Linked DNA regions of Homo sapiens: regions 2, 3, 4 and 5 are each linked to region 1. Evidence: promoter capture Hi-C in 16 types of primary human blood cells and fetal thymus (Javierre and others, 2016). All regions are on one chromosome and are shown on one strand. The core of a region is centred on a gene start or on the middle of the fragment in contact, and the rest is flanking DNA. Distances in the headings are between cores, read along the strand shown. Region 1 holds the start of TMBIM1 (transmembrane BAX inhibitor motif containing 1). Region 2 overlaps USP37 (ubiquitin specific peptidase 37). Region 3 overlaps USP37 (ubiquitin specific peptidase 37). Region 4 overlaps VIL1 (villin 1). Region 5 overlaps VIL1 (villin 1).

The links. The method cuts DNA at HindIII sites, captures the fragments that hold promoters and counts their contacts. A CHiCAGO score of 5 or more calls a contact.
Region 2: a contact is called between a fragment that was not itself captured here and the fragment with the promoter of TMBIM1 in region 1, in 4 of 17 cell types (neutrophils, naive B cells, monocytes and 1 more). The highest score is 7.0, in neutrophils.
Region 3: a fragment that was not itself captured here is called in contact with the fragment with the promoter of TMBIM1 in region 1 in 1 of 17 cell types (naive CD4 T cells); the score reaches 6.4 in naive CD4 T cells.
Region 4: a fragment that was not itself captured here is called in contact with the fragment with the promoter of TMBIM1 in region 1 in 1 of 17 cell types (monocytes); the score reaches 6.6 in monocytes.
Region 5: a contact is called between a fragment that was not itself captured here and the fragment with the promoter of TMBIM1 in region 1, in 2 of 17 cell types (monocytes and neutrophils). The highest score is 5.8, in monocytes.

Annotation. Positions count from the first base shown.
Region 1 is chr2:218,290,682-218,293,838 of GRCh38, reverse strand. TMBIM1 (transmembrane BAX inhibitor motif containing 1) reads left to right here and starts at 1,336. Exons shown (of 12, transcript NM_022152.6): 1 at 1,336-1,373. The region is part of intron 2 of PNKD (PNKD metallo-beta-lactamase domain containing); the gene reads right to left. RefSeq lists enhancers at 1-658, 841-1,803, 1,804-2,768 and a silencer at 1,079-1,558. The HindIII fragment of the contact is 24,107 bases long and covers 1-3,157 here.
Region 2 is chr2:218,484,258-218,487,895 of GRCh38, reverse strand. It overlaps USP37 (ubiquitin specific peptidase 37), which reads left to right. Exons shown (of 26, transcript NM_020935.3): 16 at 2,153-2,232. Among named protein-coding and RNA genes, the nearest start is that of VIL1, 67 kb to the right of the region's middle. The HindIII fragment of the contact is 4,287 bases long and covers 73-3,638 here.
Region 3 is chr2:218,534,274-218,537,593 of GRCh38, reverse strand. It overlaps USP37 (ubiquitin specific peptidase 37), which reads left to right. Exons shown (of 26, transcript NM_020935.3): 9 at 2,888-2,985. Among named protein-coding and RNA genes, the nearest start is that of USP37, 32 kb to the left of the region's middle. The HindIII fragment of the contact is 1,789 bases long and covers 414-2,202 here.
Region 4 is chr2:218,439,083-218,442,423 of GRCh38, reverse strand. VIL1 (villin 1) reads right to left here. Exons shown (of 20, transcript NM_007127.3): 19 at 1,562-1,702. Among named protein-coding and RNA genes, the nearest start is that of VIL1, 22 kb to the right of the region's middle. The HindIII fragment of the contact is 5,722 bases long and covers 1-3,341 here.
Region 5 is chr2:218,422,000-218,425,200 of GRCh38, reverse strand. It overlaps VIL1 (villin 1), which reads right to left. Exons shown (of 20, transcript NM_007127.3): 2 at 1,348-1,433; 3 at 850-924. The coding sequence starts at 1,422. Among named protein-coding and RNA genes, the nearest start is that of VIL1, 4.5 kb to the right of the region's middle. RefSeq lists an enhancer at 295-795. The HindIII fragment of the contact is 867 bases long and covers 886-1,752 here.

The DNA.
Region 1 (3,157 bases), core at 87-2,586:
GGGGTTTGAGACCAGCCTATGCAACAACGTGAAAACCCATCTCTACAAAACAAACAAACCAAACAAAACAAACAAGCAAACAAACAAAATTAGCTGGGTGTAGTGGCACACACTTGTAATCCCAGCTACTCAGGAGGCTGAGGCCGGAGAATCACTTGAAACCAGGAGGAGGATGCAGTGAGCCGAGATGGCGCCACTGCACTCCAGCCTGGGTGACAGAGCGAGACCCTGTCTGGAAAAAAAAAAAAAAAAAAAAAAGGACATTCAGTGGTGGTGTGGTGCTGACCTATAGCTATTAACATGAGATAAGCACTTTAAACAGAGTTGGTCAACTACTGGCAGCCTTGGTGTCATGGAAAGAACTTGGACTTTGGAACCACAGAAACTCAGGCAAGGCTCGGTAATGTTTCTCTTTTTAAATTGAGACAAGGTCTCTCTATGTTGCCTAGGCTGGGTCTCCAACTCCTGGGCTCAAGCCATCCTCTGGCCTTGGCCTCCCAAAAGTGCTAGGATCGCAGGTGTGAGTCACCATGCCCAGGCTCCAGTAATATTTCAGAACTTCCTCAAAACTGTTTCCTCCTTTGCTACTGCATTCTTCACTGAGATGAGGGTTAAGACCTACCTAACAGTAGTAATCTACATCTCAATGTAGGACTTCTGAATTCTGACTTGAGGAAAGCACCTGCTTTCCTGGTTGAGTAATTATAAACAGAGATTCTAGGTTTGCATGTTTGCAGTTTTAAACTCGAAAAGTGCATTTATCTCAAAAACACAGAATTATCAAGGATTTTAATTACTGATTTATTTGTAATGTAAAAATGGGAAACAAACGGCCTCCAGTAGGAAATTAATTTAATCCGCATAGCCATGCAATGGAATACTTCACGGCATTAAGATTGTGCTTTTGAAGACTATTTAGTGAGAAGAAAAATGTTCATCATAAAACAGTAAAAAGAAGGGCAGTAAACAAAACACCATACAATATACCCCACTGTAGAAAAACAAAATACATACAGAAATGTAATAGCCAAAGAAGGACCCAAAGCGAACGCTTCCCCCTGGGAACTAGGAGGGGTGGAGAGAAATTACTTTCTTCCCTGCATTTCTGTGTCTTTTCTAGCTTCCTATCAGTATCATGTATTGCCTTTAAATCCGAAAATACCCCTGTGTTATTAGTGAGGCGTCGTCGGGGCTCTGAGAGGCGCGCGCGCCCGGGACAGACCCCTGCGCCCCCTGGCGGCGCCCTGAGGCCCCGCCCCACGAGGCCGGCGCGACGGGGCGGGGCGCGGAGCCCCAGCCGAGCCTAGCCCTGCCCGGCCCCGGAGGACTTGCAACACTCCGAGGCCAGGAACGCTCCGTCTGGAACGGCGCAGGCAAGCCAGGGGGCCGGGGCCGGCGCCGTTGGGGACTGTGGGCGGTGGGGACTGGTCCAGGGCTGGGGCGGCCATGCGCCGGGGCGCCTAAACTTTTCGGAGCGCGCTCCCGGCTTGCCCGCTCCTGGGCCCAAGGAGCCCGTTCCAGATGGGGATCTCCCCTCCTGGCCCTTGGCGTTTCGCTCTCCCTGGGCGCGCGGGTGGGCGGCCGGGTCTGTGGCACCTGGTTAGCCTTGGGAGCCCAGCAGCGTGTTGTGGGCACTGGTGAGCGGAGCCAGGGTCTGGGGGTGTCCTCGTGTTCCCTCTTTCGGGCACGAGTGGCCTCTCTGTCGCAGGGCCTATCCACCATGCCAGCCCGAGTGGCCAGCTGTGTGGGATGAGGGCTTTCATGGCCCTCAGCTGGTGAGAAGAGGGAAGAGGGAGGGGAGACAGCCAGGGCCTGGCACGGACCCCAGGTTGCCCCCACACGCGCTGAGGCCAGTCTCGGTGTAGACAGGTGAATATTTAAGGGGTGGGGAAGGGGGGGTCCTAGCTTGCAGCTGGGGCAGAAGCCAATGAGCAGCTCAAGTGTTTGGCATGGGGAAGTGGCCACCTCTATCACCATGACTTTGCCCTCTGCCAGTCCCACTTCCAGCCACTGTTTCCCGGCTGGGTTCACAGAACTACAGGGGAGTAACATCCTCCTCGTGACTTCTTTGGGTTAGAGTGAAAACAAAACAGAGAAACGGGAAAAGGGAAAGCAAGTGGAGAGACTGGGGCAGGAGCCAGGGACCAGTGGGAGGAAGCAGAGGGAGGCTGCTGGGAGGCCAGGCCCTGGCCTTGTGGGGTCGGCACCAATTCTTGTCCTATGGGGTCTCCATCTCCTCTCCCTCCTCTGTGGCCTCTACGTGGTACCCAGGAGTTTGGGGTTCTACCTGAGCACCCTGGACATGGGATAAGTAGGCCTGGGAACGCAGGTCAGAGCCAGATGTCATGGAAGGGCCCTCAGGTGTCCAGTTCTCTGGGCTCTGAAATATTCATCTCATTAGTGAGCTTTGGTTTCCAAGCTGGCGACTTTGGGCTGGCCAGTGGTGGCAGGGGAGCCAGGTGCCTCCTGGGGCTGCTTTATTGGCGCAAAGGGGGAGCCATACTTCCTTCTCACCTGCCTCCTCTCTCTGTCTCTCCAGTCATGAGGATCCAGAGAACCAGTTTATAGCTTAAATGGAAGAGGCAGGACCACAGTGTCAGGGGCCCTGTCTTTCTGTGCTATGACCTCAAGGCCTCACTTGTAAAAATGAGCCCTTCAGAGAGGTAATGATGGGTTATCCTGTAAGTGTTGGGAGAGCCTCATGTCATGAGCTGGGGTAATAGCCACCTGGGCTCAGCCTCCTCCCCTGGGAATGGGTGCCTCAGCCAGACGCTGTCTACCTCAGAGCACCTCCAACCGCAGGCCTCACCCTGGGCCTTTCAGAAAAAGCAGAAGCCACAGAGAAGGGAAACACACATACTTGTGTGTTTTCAGAGGGCTGAACTGGGACGACCAGAGAGTGGAAGCTCATACAATTCTCTGGGAAGAAGTTCTGCTAACAACATGTCTGATCATGACATGGGCCTTCTGGACCTATTCTGTTGGGGACACAGTGGAAGGGATGACCTTGACAGAATCTTCCAACCCTAAGATTCTGGGATTCTAGGCCAAAACCTGGGTCTTGTTTTGAAGTAGAAATGATATCCAGAAGTCGACAGGCTACAGTGGCAGGTACCTCCATTGGTGGGAAGGGAGATATTAATGAGCTCCCACTTTT
Region 2 (3,638 bases), core at 967-3,466, 190 kb before region 1:
GAGTTTCAACAACATTATTCGTGGGGAAAACAGATGAGAAGTTTTTGTAAATTATTATTATTTTTAAAAGCTTGATAAATCTAATTATAACTCATTGAAAAAGAAAATTAATTGCTTAAATAGATTATAAATTTAACTCAATAGCAAGCATTTAGACAATCTTAGAAATAGTTTGTTGGCCAGGCGCAGTGGCTCACACCTGTAATCCCAGCACTTTGGGAGGCCAAGGCAGGCGGTTCACAAGGTCAAGAGATCAAGATCATCCTGGCCAACATGGTGAAACCCGGTCTCTACTAAAAATACAAAAAATAGCTGGGCATGGTGGCGTGTGCCTGTAGTCCCAGCTAATCAGGAGGCTGAGGCAGGAAAATCACTTGAACCTGGGAGTGGGAGGTTGCAGTGAGCCAAGATCACGCCACTGCACTCCAGCCTGGCGACAGAACGAGACTCCGTCTCAAAAAAAAAAAGTAGTTTGTTATTTGTAAACAAATATTAAAGTATTTGAAGTAACATATTCTAAAATTTGGTAACATGAAATTAAAACTGTAGATATCACGTAAGTTGGTATCCTAAGATCTGCAGAATAAGAAAATATTCTTTGCTCTTTCTTAGGTTGTACGTACCCTATTAGAAACAGGAAGAAAGAATCATGTTTATCCAAAGCTGTAGATACATATTTGTGTCTGTGATATACCGTTACAGATATTGAGAAAGTTTCTGGGGCATAATCAGACTGTTGTTATAGCAGTCCTTATAAACTAGTGGAAATTTGCAAGAATCGATTCCCCCTTGATCTGTCTAGTAGCGGTCCTTGTTGTGTTGTAGCAAATTGGCAGGATTGTCTTCCTAAGGTATAAAAAATAAAAATAAGGCCGGGCACGGTGGCTAACGCCTGTAATCCCAGCACTTTGGGAGGCTGAGGTGGGAGGATCACGAGGTCAGGAGATCGAGACCATCCTGGCTAACACGGTGAAACCCTGTCTCTACTAGAAATACAAAAAAATTAGCTGGGCGTGGTGGCGGGCGCCTGTAGTCCCAGCTACTCGGGAGGCTGAGGCAGGAGAATGGCGTGAACCTGGGAGGTGGAGCTTGAAGTGAGCCGAGATCGCGCCACTGCACTCCAGCCTGGGCGACAGAGCAAGACTCTGTCTCAAAAAAATAAAAAAAATAAAAAATCTGGCTGGGTGTGGTGGCTCCCACCTGTAATCCCAAGGTGAGGCCAAGGGAGGCCAATCACCTGAAGTCAGGAGTTCAATACCAGCCTGGCCAACACGGCAAAACCCTGCTTCTACTAAAAATGCAAAAGTTGGCCAGGTATGGTGGCACATGCCTGTAGTCCCAGCTACTTGGCAAGCTGAGGCACGAGAATCACTTGAACCCTGGAGGTGGAGGTTGCAGTGAGCTGAGATCACGCCCCTCCCTCCCACCCAGTTGCCTGGGTGACAGAGCAAGGCTCTGTGTCAAAACAAACAGACAAAAAAATCTGTTTATTAAATGGTGAACGTTGAGCTCTACCCAAAGATAAATACTCTGCTTTTCTTTTAGTCATTTTTAAACTATTCTTGTTATTATCATAGACTTTGAAGATTTTCCTATGTATTTTTACCCCCATTTTTTAAGGATTTCTTGTTTCAGTGTTCTCTAGGTAATGGTATTCACCCCAACTTTTCATCCTTTTAAAGCAGTTGTTCTTAGTGGGCTGTCACGAGAAGATTGAGTTCCATTATGCGAAAGGGGTAGCGTTACACCTAACAGACAAGAAATTCTACCTAACCTAAAGGTGATCTTATCTCTGCTATGGCCATATGGTAAAATCTGGATATACTCTTGGTAGTGGTTCATATGTGTCCATGGGGAAAAGGCTGAAAAGGCTAAGAATCTTCTATTTTAGAGTCTAGTTACTATCATAAATTTAGATATATTCTTGGTGAAAAAGGAAATTAGAAGTTCTGAAATGGGGCATGATATTATAGGTATATTTTGAGGATTGGGTCTTAATTTGGTAAGGCTCATGGCTCTAGACACAGAATTTTTAAAACTGGTTCAGAGTTGTCATTCCACTAATGGAACTAATAAGACTAGAGCAAATTATTTGCATTTAAGATACTAATGCTGATTCACCTTCATGCTTTATTTTTCCTTCTTTTTATAGGCCGAAGAACTGGAGTATTCTTGTGAGAAGTGTGGTGGGAAGTGTGCTCTTGTCAGGCACAAATTTAACAGGCTTCCTAGGTAATTTTTTTTTTTTTTTTTTTTTTTTGCTATGGACTAAAGAATTCCCAGGTACATTTAATTGCTTTTCAATTTTTCTTTTTAAAGTTCATACAAATATTACTGAATAAATGAAGGTTACCAGAATGGATTGGTAAAGAGGGTCAGGAAAGCTGAAATGTGCAGAGTGTAAGAGGGCAGAGAGCTAGAATGCTTTTGCATAAGAAAGGTGACCAGGTGTGATAGCTCACGCCTGTAATCCTAGCACTTTGGGAGGCTGAGGTAGGAGGATCACTTGAGTCCAGGAGTTCAAGACCAGCCTGGGTAACGTAGGGAAACCCCATCTCTACAAAAGAAAGAAATATATATTTAAAGGAAGGAAGGAAAAGCGTTTGAAATATTGAAGAGAAAAAGGGTCTTGAGAGTTCCAAGAAAATGGCAACAGAGGATACAGCTGCTGAGACTTTGGAATAATTATAAGAACTAGCTAGTCAATTTTTAATTCAGTAATGTGTAATATTCAGTTATATTTTGTTGCCCTGTGTTGTGCTGTAGTCTTTTTCTGTTATCCCATACTTTCAGTAAAAACCTGCTATAGACACATACACACATGTATATAAGAATAAAACAGGGAGTAATTTTTTGCAGTTTGTGCGTTCCTTCATTCTAAGGATCTTATAAATTAGTAAATTTCCTGTAATCATAAGATAAATTTTCTGATATAGGAATGAAATTAACTTATATTGTATCTGCTCTGTATAAACATAAAACTGAAGTAGTTACAAAAAATTATTATGTGGTTACAGGACAGCTTTTAGTTCTTTCCAAGAATAGATCGCAAACACCAAGGTTGTTATTAACATTAAGTATTTATGTAGCACTTTGCCTACAGAGTGCTTTACTTTCTTTTATTAGCTTCAATATTCTGTCAGTAAGTGTGGAATTTCTGGAACCTAGCCCCTAGAGACTAGTTCTTTTACATTTCATAATCTACTCCTTTCTAGAAAATGGGAGTTGGTTTTTTTTTTTGGTTGTTTGTTGTTGTTGTTGTTGTTGTTGTTTTGATACAGAGTCTTGCTCTGTCCCCCAGGCTAGAGTGCAGTGGCACGATCTCAGCTCACCGCAACCTCTGCCTCACGGGTTCAAGCGATTCTCCTGCCTCAGCCTCCCGAGTAGCTGGGATTACAGCTGTATGCCACCACACCTGGCTAATTTTTGTATTTTTAGTAGAGACGGGGTTTTGCCATGTTGACCAGGTTGGTCTTGAACTCCTGACCTCAGGTGATCCACCTGCCTTGGCCTCCCAAAGTGCTGGGATTATAGGCATAAGCCACCGCGCCGGGCCAAGGAAGTTGGTTTTAAAGAAATGACTTTATAAAGGCTGGGTGTGGTGGTTCACGCCTGTAATCTCAACATTTTGAGAAGCC
Region 3 (3,320 bases), core at 59-2,558, 240 kb before region 1:
AATAGTAACTATTCATTTTTGCTTATGAATTTATGGTCACCTGGGTGGTTCTGTTTATCTGGGCCCAGTTTGGCTCATAGTACCTGGATTCTAATTTTGTTACGCCTCTGTAGTCAGTAGATGGTTTGGCTAGAGTTTGACTGGTCTAGGATGGCCTCACTCATATAACTGGCCATTGAGTGGTGGGCGTGATTGGGCCATGTGTCTTCCACTGTTAACAGGCTAGCCTGGGATTATTCACATAGCAGTGGCAGGGTTCCAAGAGAGTGAGTGGAAACCTGCAGGGCACCTTTAGACTTAGGGTCAGAACTCACACACTGTTAACTTCTGTCACATTGTTTTGGGAAAAGGAAATCACAGGACTAGCCCCATTAAGGGATGAAGAAATAGACTGAATTTATTGATTAGAAGCTTGAATATAGGGAGTGAAATAATTTGCGACATTTTAAAAACAACTTTATTAAGCTACAATTTACATACCATGTAATTGACCCATTTTAAGGGTATATAAGTCAATGATTTTTAGTAAATTTTTTTAGTTATATTACGTCATCATTATCTAGTTTCAGAACATTTCCATTACCCCAATACGATCTATTGTGTAATCATTCTACCACATTTCTAAAATACTGGAGATACTGCGTGAGCCCTATCCTTCTCTACCTTATTTCATCCTAATTCACCATAGGTGAAAATCTTAGCAATTGTAACACTATAAGATGTCAGAGGTATTACTATCAGCAACAGAATTTCTGTTGCCATTGCCAAACAAGGGTCCAATTCCAGAATCCTATCCTTAGAGTGTGCTTCCTAGGCCCACTTTTAGTACCAGCTGTTGTAGATTATGTTCCCCAGAAGCAGAATCTGAAATGGAGATTAGTGTGCATGTGAATTACTAAGGAAGTACTCCCAGAGAAGATAGTGAAGGGAGTAAGGAAAGCAATATAGTTAAGGGCAGGAAACAAAGCATGGATGTGATCCTGGAGAAGTCACACAAGGACATGAAGGTTAGTCTTCATCCTGATATTACAGAAATCTGTTATGTAGCTTCCACCATAAAGTTGTTTTAATCCAAATCAGGAGAGCTGGGCTTCTCTACTGTAGCGCCCGGCCTTGTTTGTGACTCTGAGATTACAGGCAAAGTATCTCTAGTAACTTGAGGGCAGTCCTGTGAAGAAGAGCCCTTGGTACTGGCTATCAAAAACATAAGTTGGTGTGAAGATATGGAAGAGAGAATATAAAAATGAGTCAGTGGGAATCTAGGTGGGGCACACTTAGGCATTGTCTGCCACAGGCTTAGTTCATGATGGTTCCCCTTAAATTAGCACTGTTAAAGCATGAACATTTATTTGAATGGACACTCTCTACTTATATGGGTTGAGGTATTTGAAAATAATACAGGGGAGAAAAGGGCTTTTAAAAGAAATTTTAACTTTGTATTCATGATCCTAAAGAATTTTAATCAATATAAATTAAAATGCTGTTGCTGCTTAGCAAATAGTATTGCTATTCATGTGGAATACACAGTTTTGATTTTGATTTTTCTTTTCCTTTTTTTTTTTTTTTTTTTTTTTTTGAGATGAAGTCTCGCTCTTGTCACCCATTCTGGAGTGCAATGGCGTGATCCCTGGCTCACTGCAACCTCTGCCTCTGGGTTCAAGCAATACTTCTGCCTCAGCCTCCTGAATAGCTGGGATCACAGACGCCTGCCACCACGCCTGGCTAATTTTTTTTTTTTTGAGACAGAGTCTCGCTCTGTCACCCAGGCTGGAGTGCAGTGGCGCGATCTTGGCTCACTGCAAGCTCCGCCTCCCGGGTTCACGCCATTCTCCCACCTCAGCCTCCTGCGTAGATGGGACTACAGGTGCCCGCCACCACGCCCAGCTAATTATTGTATTTTTAGTAGAGACAGGGTTTCACTGTGTTAACCAGGATGGTCTTGATCTCCTGACCTCATGATTCACCTGCCTCGGCCTCCCAAAGTGCTGGGATTACAGGTGTGAGCCACTGCATCCAGCCCACTCCCAGCTAATTTTTGTATTTTTAATAGAGATGGGGTTTCCCACGTTGGCCAGGCTGGTCTCGAACTCCCAACCTCAGGTGATCCGCCCGCCTCGCCCTCCCAAGCTGCTAGGATTAAGGCTTGAGCCACCGCGCCCAGCCTGATTTGTTTTTCTTTGTAAACCTATAAACTGCCAAGCTTGAACATTGTACTTTTTTTTTTTTTTAAGACTAAGACTCACTCTGTTGCCCAAGCTGGAGTGCAGTGGCGCGATCACGGCTCACTGCAACCTCCACCTCCCAGGTTCAAGTGATTCTCCTGCCTCACAGCCTCCCGAGTAGCTGGGACTACAGGAACGCGCCACCATGCTTGGCTAATTTTTGTATTTTTAGTTGAGACGGGGTTTCACTATGTTGGCCAGGCTGGTCTCGAACTCCTGACCTCGCGATCTGCCCGCCTCAGCCTCCCAAAGTGCTGGGATTACAGGAGTGAGCCACCGCGCCTGGCCACAGTTTACTTTTTAATTGATTCTTTTGGTCTTAGTAGCTGAATCATTTTATCTGGTCTTGCTTTTGGCCAAGAAAATCTAATAATCTTGCTGTCTCTGATTTGACTTTTATATAAAGAAAAATGCTCCTTTACTTTTGCTAAGTTATCAGAGTCATGGATTGGATTGGCTCTTGAGATAGTAATTAAAGATTATTTTTGTAATTTTCATTTGTTTAAGTCATTGACCTTTTGAGACTAACAATCTTGTAGCTTAATTTTCAAGCATATCAATGAATTTGGCACTTTAAATGTAAATGTTTTAATGACAACTATTTAAAATTAAGAACAATATTTTTATACACCTGTACTATATTGATGTAAAATTATTAACTATAGGAACAACAAGGCCATGACAGATCCCTCCAGAAAGTATTTAACCAGCAGTAGAGAAAAGCAGCTGAGTTTGAAACAGTCAGAAGAGAATAGGACATCAGGTAAGTGTTTGATCTTACAATAAATAAGGTGCTCATTTATTATATATTTATTAGATTAGAAATAAAAACCTAACCCATCTGTACATTCTTTTTATTTTTATTTATTTATATATATTTTTTGAGACGGAGTCTTGCTCTGTCGCCCAGGTTGGAGTGCAGTGGCACAATATCGGCTCACTGCAACCTCTGCCTCCCGGGTTCAAGTGATTCTCCTGCCTCAGCCTCTCAAGTAGCTGGGACTGCAGGTGTGTTCTATCATGCCTGGCTAATTTTTGAATTTTTAGTGGAGACGAGATTTCACCATATTGGCCAGGCTAGTTTCAAAATCCTGAACA
Region 4 (3,341 bases), core at 317-2,816, 150 kb before region 1:
AGCTCTTCTTGCTGTGCTAACCCCAGTTACCAGATGGACCATGTGCTGATGAGTCTTAAATTCATATCTCTGCCCTGGTGTTCCTCTGAATTGCTTGCCCACTGAACATGTATCTAAACCTCAAAGGACATAGCTACCACCAAACTCATGATTGTCTTCCCCTAAGCTCAGCCTGATCCAGTTTTCTATCTTGGAGAATGATGCTATTTTCTCTTCTCTCATACTCTTTATCCAGTAATTACCAAATATCATTGATTTTACCTCCTAAATGTTTCTCTCCACCTCCTCCACCATGACTTGTTCTAGGTTCCCACCTACCTGTCGGCCTGAGAGCAGCTGTGCTGTCTCTCCTAACTGGTGTTCCTATGGCTGCTCTTGCCACCTTCCAGGCTATTGTTCGATGAGAAGCTATAATTATTATTATTATTATCATTTTGAGATGGAGTTACACTCTTGTCGCCCAGGCTGGAGTGCAATGGTGAAATCTCGGCTCACTGCAACCTCCACCTCCTGGGTTCAAGTGATTCTCCTGCCTCAGCATCCCGAGTAGCTGGGATTATAGGCACAAGCCACCATGCCCGGCTATTTTTGTAATTTTAGTAGAGATGGGGTTTCACCATGTTGGCCAGGCTGGTCTCGAACACCTGACCTCAGGTGATCCGCATTCCTCGGCCTCTCAAAGTGCTGGGATTACAGGCATGAGCCACCGTGCCAGGCCAATGTAAGTCTGTCACTCTGCTACTTCAACCATAATGATACTCCCCTTCACCACCAGGATACATGATACGATCCTTAACTTGGGGTAGAAGGCACTGCCAGTTCAGCCCTGCCTCCCTCCCTGGCTCTGCACACCACCACAGCCACTCTGGCCCTCTTGCAGTTTTGCCCCCATTTTTATTCCTTGCCTTTGGGCTTCATGTTAGCTGTCCCTTCTCCAGAACTAACTTACTTTGCCTCAATAATTCCTATTTGTCTTTCAGAAAGAAATCTCTAAATCAGGCTCCTCTTTGTAATACCTTTTTTTTTTTTCTTTTTTTGAGACAGTCTCACTCTGTCACCCAGGGTGGAGTGCAGTGGCATGATCTTGACTCACTGCAACCTCCACCTCCCGGGTTCAAGCAATTCTCATGGCTCAGCCTCCCGAGTAGCTGGGATTACAGGCATACACCACCACACCTGGCTAATTTTTGTAGTTTTAGTAGAGATGGGGTTTCCCCATATTGGTCAGGCTGGTCTCAAACTCCTGACCTCAGGTGATCCACCCACCTCGGCCTCCCAAAGTGCTGGGATTACAGGCATGAGCCACTGCACCCGGCCCTGTTTGTAATACTCTTCACAGCTCCTGTACTTCACCTTTCTGGCACTTAACCCTGAAATTAAATAATAGTGTAACCAGGCTTCTCTGATCTCTCTCCTCCTGGGATATAAGGTGGCATGAAGGCAGGATCCCATCTGTCTTGTTCATCCCCAGCACCTAGTCACCTGCAGGGCCAAATCTGGGAGTCAACTATGGTGGTCCAACAAATGGACTTCTTTGTCTTCCTTTGAGAATCTGACCTACCTCCTTCCTGCTGGGGTCCACACCCTCGGGGAGCTCCTCTACAGGCTTGTTCACTAGCTGCTCCAGGGGGAAGATGGGCAGAGGCCCAGAACTGAGGTTGCTGTTAGCATTGAACACGTCCACTTTGGGGCTTGTGACCTCCTAGGAAAGAAAAGGAAACCACTGGTTACTTTAGCTGGTGCACAGCTACCTCCCAGGCTGCCTTTCTCTCTGAAGTCTCTAGGGCACCACCTTCAAGAAGCCTCCCATGTCCCACCCCACCCTGCCACACACACACTCATAAGAACAACATAGGCTGGGTGCAGTGGCTCACGCCTGTAATCCCAGCACTTTGGGAGGCTGAGGTGGGTGGATCACTTGAGGTCAGGAGTTCAAGACCAGCCTGTCTAACATGGTGAAACCGCATCTCTACTAAAAATACAAAACTTAGCCAGGTGTGGTGTCAGGCGCCTGTAATCCCATCTACTCAGGAGGCTGAGGTAGGAGAATCGTTTGAACCTGGGAGGTGGAGGTTGCAGTGAGCTGAGATTGCGCCACTGCACTTCAGCCTGGGCAACAGAGAGAGACTCCTCAAAACAACAACAACAACAACATAGAGCTTAGTGGTCTGTTCTGACCGAAGTCCATTGGTGGAAAATGACTCTTTTCTTTAACGATTCATTAACTTTCCCATGGCTTTCCCCAGAGTTGGAGATCTAGCCTGGATATTTATGACCCTGTCTCTCTTATCTGTTGTGAAATTGTCATCTATAAATTCACTTAACCTTGACCTATCTATACATGCCAGTCTGTACTGTCAGTCCACCAAGAAGGGTTTCATGAGTGCTGCAGGTTTTGACCATCTGTTGATTATACCCCAGTGTGCTTGTGAACTTGCTCTTGAATTCTGGACACATTCCTCAGAGTTAGCTCTGTCTTGTTCTCTCTATAAGCCTGTGAACTTCTCAAAGCAAAGGTTTTGATTTCATATTCCCGTGTCCCAGGCCTAAAGGCTAAATACATTTTTTTTCTTTTCTTTTTTCGGGTTTTTTTTTTTTTTTTTTTTTGAGACAGGGTCTGACTCTGTTGCCCAGGCTGGAGTGCAGTGGCACAATTTCAGCTAACTGCAACCTCTGCCTCCTGGGTTCAAACCAACCTCCCACCTCAGCCTCCTGAGTAGCTGGGACCACAAGCACGCACCACCACACCTGGCTGTTTTTTATTTTTTGTAAAGATGGGGTTTCCCCATGTTACGAAGACTAGTCTCAAACTCCTGGGCTCAAGCAATCCACCCACCTCGGCCTCCCAAAGTGCTGAGATTACAGGCGTGAGCCACTGTGCCCAGCCTAAATACACTTCTGTTAACTCACTGAAAGACCAAAGGAGTTGTAGTTATTCTACCTAGAGAAGGGATCCCAAAGGTGATGGAGTATAGAGACAGCATTATTTCTCAAAGTGTAGTCCATGGACTAACTACATGAAATTACCTTTTTAAAATAAGATTTAAAAGATGCAGATTCCTAGGTGCCAATTCTAAGTCTATAAACCAGAATATTTGGGAATGGGGCCTTGGAATCTGCATTTTAATATGCTTCCCCCTCACTCCCTGCCCCCATCTCCCCGACTTCTATGCATGATAAAATTTGAGAACCAGGCCAGGTGTGGTGGCTCATGCCTGCAATCCTAGCACTTTGGGAGGCCGAGGCTGGTGGATCACTTGAGGTCAGGAGTTTGAGACCAGACTGGCCAACATGGTGAAACCTCGTCTCTACTAAAAATACAAAAATTAGCCAGGCGTGGT
Region 5 (3,201 bases), core at 70-2,569, 130 kb before region 1:
GCTGAGCCACGAGAATCGCTTGAATCCAGGAGGCAGAGTTTGCAGTGAGCCAAGATTGTGCCATTGCACTCCAGCCTGGGCGACAGAGCGAGACTCTGTCTCAAAAAATAATAATAATAAATACATAAAATAAAATAAAAATTTAAAATGAGTCAATATAAAGAAAAAAATACAAATGTCTTAATAGTACAGGTGGTACCAGGGTATGGTGAAAATCAAGGTGATATGAAGATGACTGCCAGGCTGGGCATGGTGGCTCATGCCTGTAATCCCAGCATTTTGGGAGGCTGAGGCGAGTGGATCACCTGAGGTCAAGAGTTCGAAACCAGCCTGATCAACATGGTGAAACCCCGTTTCTACTAAAAAATACAAAAAAATTAGCTGACTGTGGTGGCACGTGCCTGTAGTCCAAGCTACTCAAGAGGCTGAGGCAGGAGAATCGCTTGAACCCGGGAAGTGGAGGTTGCAGTGAGCCGAGGTCGCTCCACTGCACTCCAGCCTGGGTGACAGAGTGAGACTCCATCCGGAAAAAAATTTTAAAAAAAGAAGATGACTATGGATTGTGGAAATGTGGACTCAAGTTAGGGTGATACGGCAACAACTCAGAAGTTTCCCCAAGACTGTGAATCCACAGAAGTTGACCTCAGCTGGGAGCTCAGTGGATCAAGGGCAGCAAGAGCCTCTGACCTCTGTGAAGCCCCCACAGGGTTGGGCACTTGGGCATACCCAGTAAATTGTGTCTTGGGGTGAAGCCAGGCCAACTCTCCCCACGGCCCCCAGCCTGTTTCCTCCCTGACACCACAGTGGGTTTTGCTCTCTGCTCAGCCCCCTCCCCTGCCCCTGACTCACAGCCAGGATGATGTAGCAGTCACCATCGAAGAAGCTTCCAAAGGTGCTGGAAGGAACAGGCACCATCTGCATGGCCTAAGGAGAGAAAGAGGGTCAGAGGGGCTGCCCTGGACCACCAGGACCCCTAGGCCTGGGAGGAGGGCCCAAGGGGAGGAGGCGTCGGAGACAAAGAGCCGGGCCCAGGAATGAAAGGAGAGAAAAGGAAGAGAGGAGAAGAAAACTGTGAGGGGCGGGAGAAGGAAAATCAATGGAGGGAAAGGAAGGGATGAGTGAGGAAGAGGAAGTGGAGAGGAAGGTTGAGAGACAGAGGGAGAAGAAATGGAGAAAGGGAAAGGGAGACCAGCCGGGGTGTGGATGATGCGGGAGGTGAGGGGCTGAGCTCTCAGGGGCTTCAGGGCAGGAGCAGAGGAAACGAAGAGAAATCCCAGGCCTCCCTCCTTGGCCTTGCCTCCCTCCACCCCAGGCCTGAGCAGCCCCCATGCCCAGACAGGGCCTCACCTCGATCCTCCATATCTGCAGCCCCGGGGTGGTGATGTTGAGAGAGCCTTTGACTTGGGCGCTCAGCTTGGTCATGGTGAGTGAGCCTGGGGGAGAAGGCGTTGGGAGCAGGGGCACCCTGAGTTCGGATGCTGCCCTTCCAGCCTGCCCCTAGAGAACTCCCAACAGTGCCAGGAGGTCGCAGGCTCAGGGGCTTGGGGGAGCACAGAGGGTTACTCCCCACTCAGGGACCATTTCCGCTTGTTTAGTACCAAATCCGCAGTGTCTAGCACAGTGACTTTGCTCAATAAGGAAGAGAGGGGGAGGGAAGGAGTGAGAGATGGATGAATGAATGAACAGAGTGAACCCTCCCACTGTGAACTACTCTCTGCCCGCTAAACTGGAAGGAACCCCCCTCCCCAAGCTTTTCTCCTCATGTCAGCCCTTTCTCCATATTATTTTTTTCTTCTTCTTCTTTTTGAGATGGAGTCCCGCTCTGTCGCACAGGCTGGAGTGCAGTGTCGTGATCTTGGCTCACTGCAACCTCTGCCTCCCAGGTTCAAGTGATTCTCCTACCTCAACCTCCCGCATAGCTGGGATTACAGGCGTGAGCCACCACGCCTGGCTAATTTTGTATTTTTAGTAGAGACAGGGTTTCCCCATGTGGGCCAGGCTGGTCTCAAACTCCTGACCTCAGGTGATCCACCTGTCACAGCCTCCCAAAGTGCTGGGATTACAGGCATGAGCCACTGTGCCTGGCCGGCCCTTTTTGCTTGGACCTGTAGCTGTATTCGCTCCTGCTGCTCATCAGCCTCAGCTGGGGAGCTTCGGAACGTGCTGATGCTCCAGGCTCTGGTGATTCTGATTTAATTAGGCCAGGGTGGGGCTTGGGCATGGGTGCTTTATTTTCTGCCTTTTGGGAGGTGAGGCATGGGTGCTTTTAAAACTCCCCAGTGATTCTGATATGAACTAGGGCAGACAGCCACTAGTGCCCAGTTATTCTCCTCCCTAGTTTTGAGGTTCCTCCTCATCAGGCCAGAGGCCACCCCGATCTCCATGGAGCCTATCACCCAGCCTGGCAGAGAGCTGCCCTCCATGAATGCTCCTTGAACTGATGAATAATGAATGAGAGGGCATGTGGCCGACAGGTCAGGCCTCCACTCGCTGACAGCCTGAAATCTCACTATCTAATCTCTCCTTGCACCTTGACTTTGAGTCACCTCTTAGTGACTTGGCCTTTTAGTACTTAGAAACTCCCTTTTCTGAGCCCTGAGGGGTGGCTGCTGCTTCCCTGGCGTTCTAGAGTTGGAGGTAAGGCCCTGCCCAGTCTCTGATCATTGCCTGCTCCGACTGATTAGCAGCAGCTTGCCGTGTAACTGTAGGAGCCCCTTGGGCTTGGGTCCTGTCTGATGGCCTGTTGGCTATGGCCTTCTCCATCAGGCAACCATGGTCTCCTCCATCAGGTATTTTTCAACCTACCAAGTCCCCAGGGCTCCCAGGATTCCTGGTCCAGCAGAACCAGGTTGGGTATAAAGGAGGAGACCGTTTTCTGTTTCATTTCTGTCATCACCTTTGTCTCTGTCCCCTTCTTTTATTTATTTATTTATTTATTTATTTTTGGGACAGAGTTTCACTCTTGTTGCCCAGGCTGAAGTACAATGGCACAATCTCGGCTTACTTCAACCTCCGCCTCCCGGGTTCAAGTGATTCTCCTGCCTCAGCCCCCCAAGTAGCTGGGATTACAGGCGCGAGCCACCAAGCCCAGCTAATTTTTGTATTTTTAATAGAGACGGGGGTTTCACCATGTTGGCCAGGCTGGTCTCGAACTCCTGACCTCAGGTGATCCACCCGCCTCAGCCTCCTAAATTGCTGGAA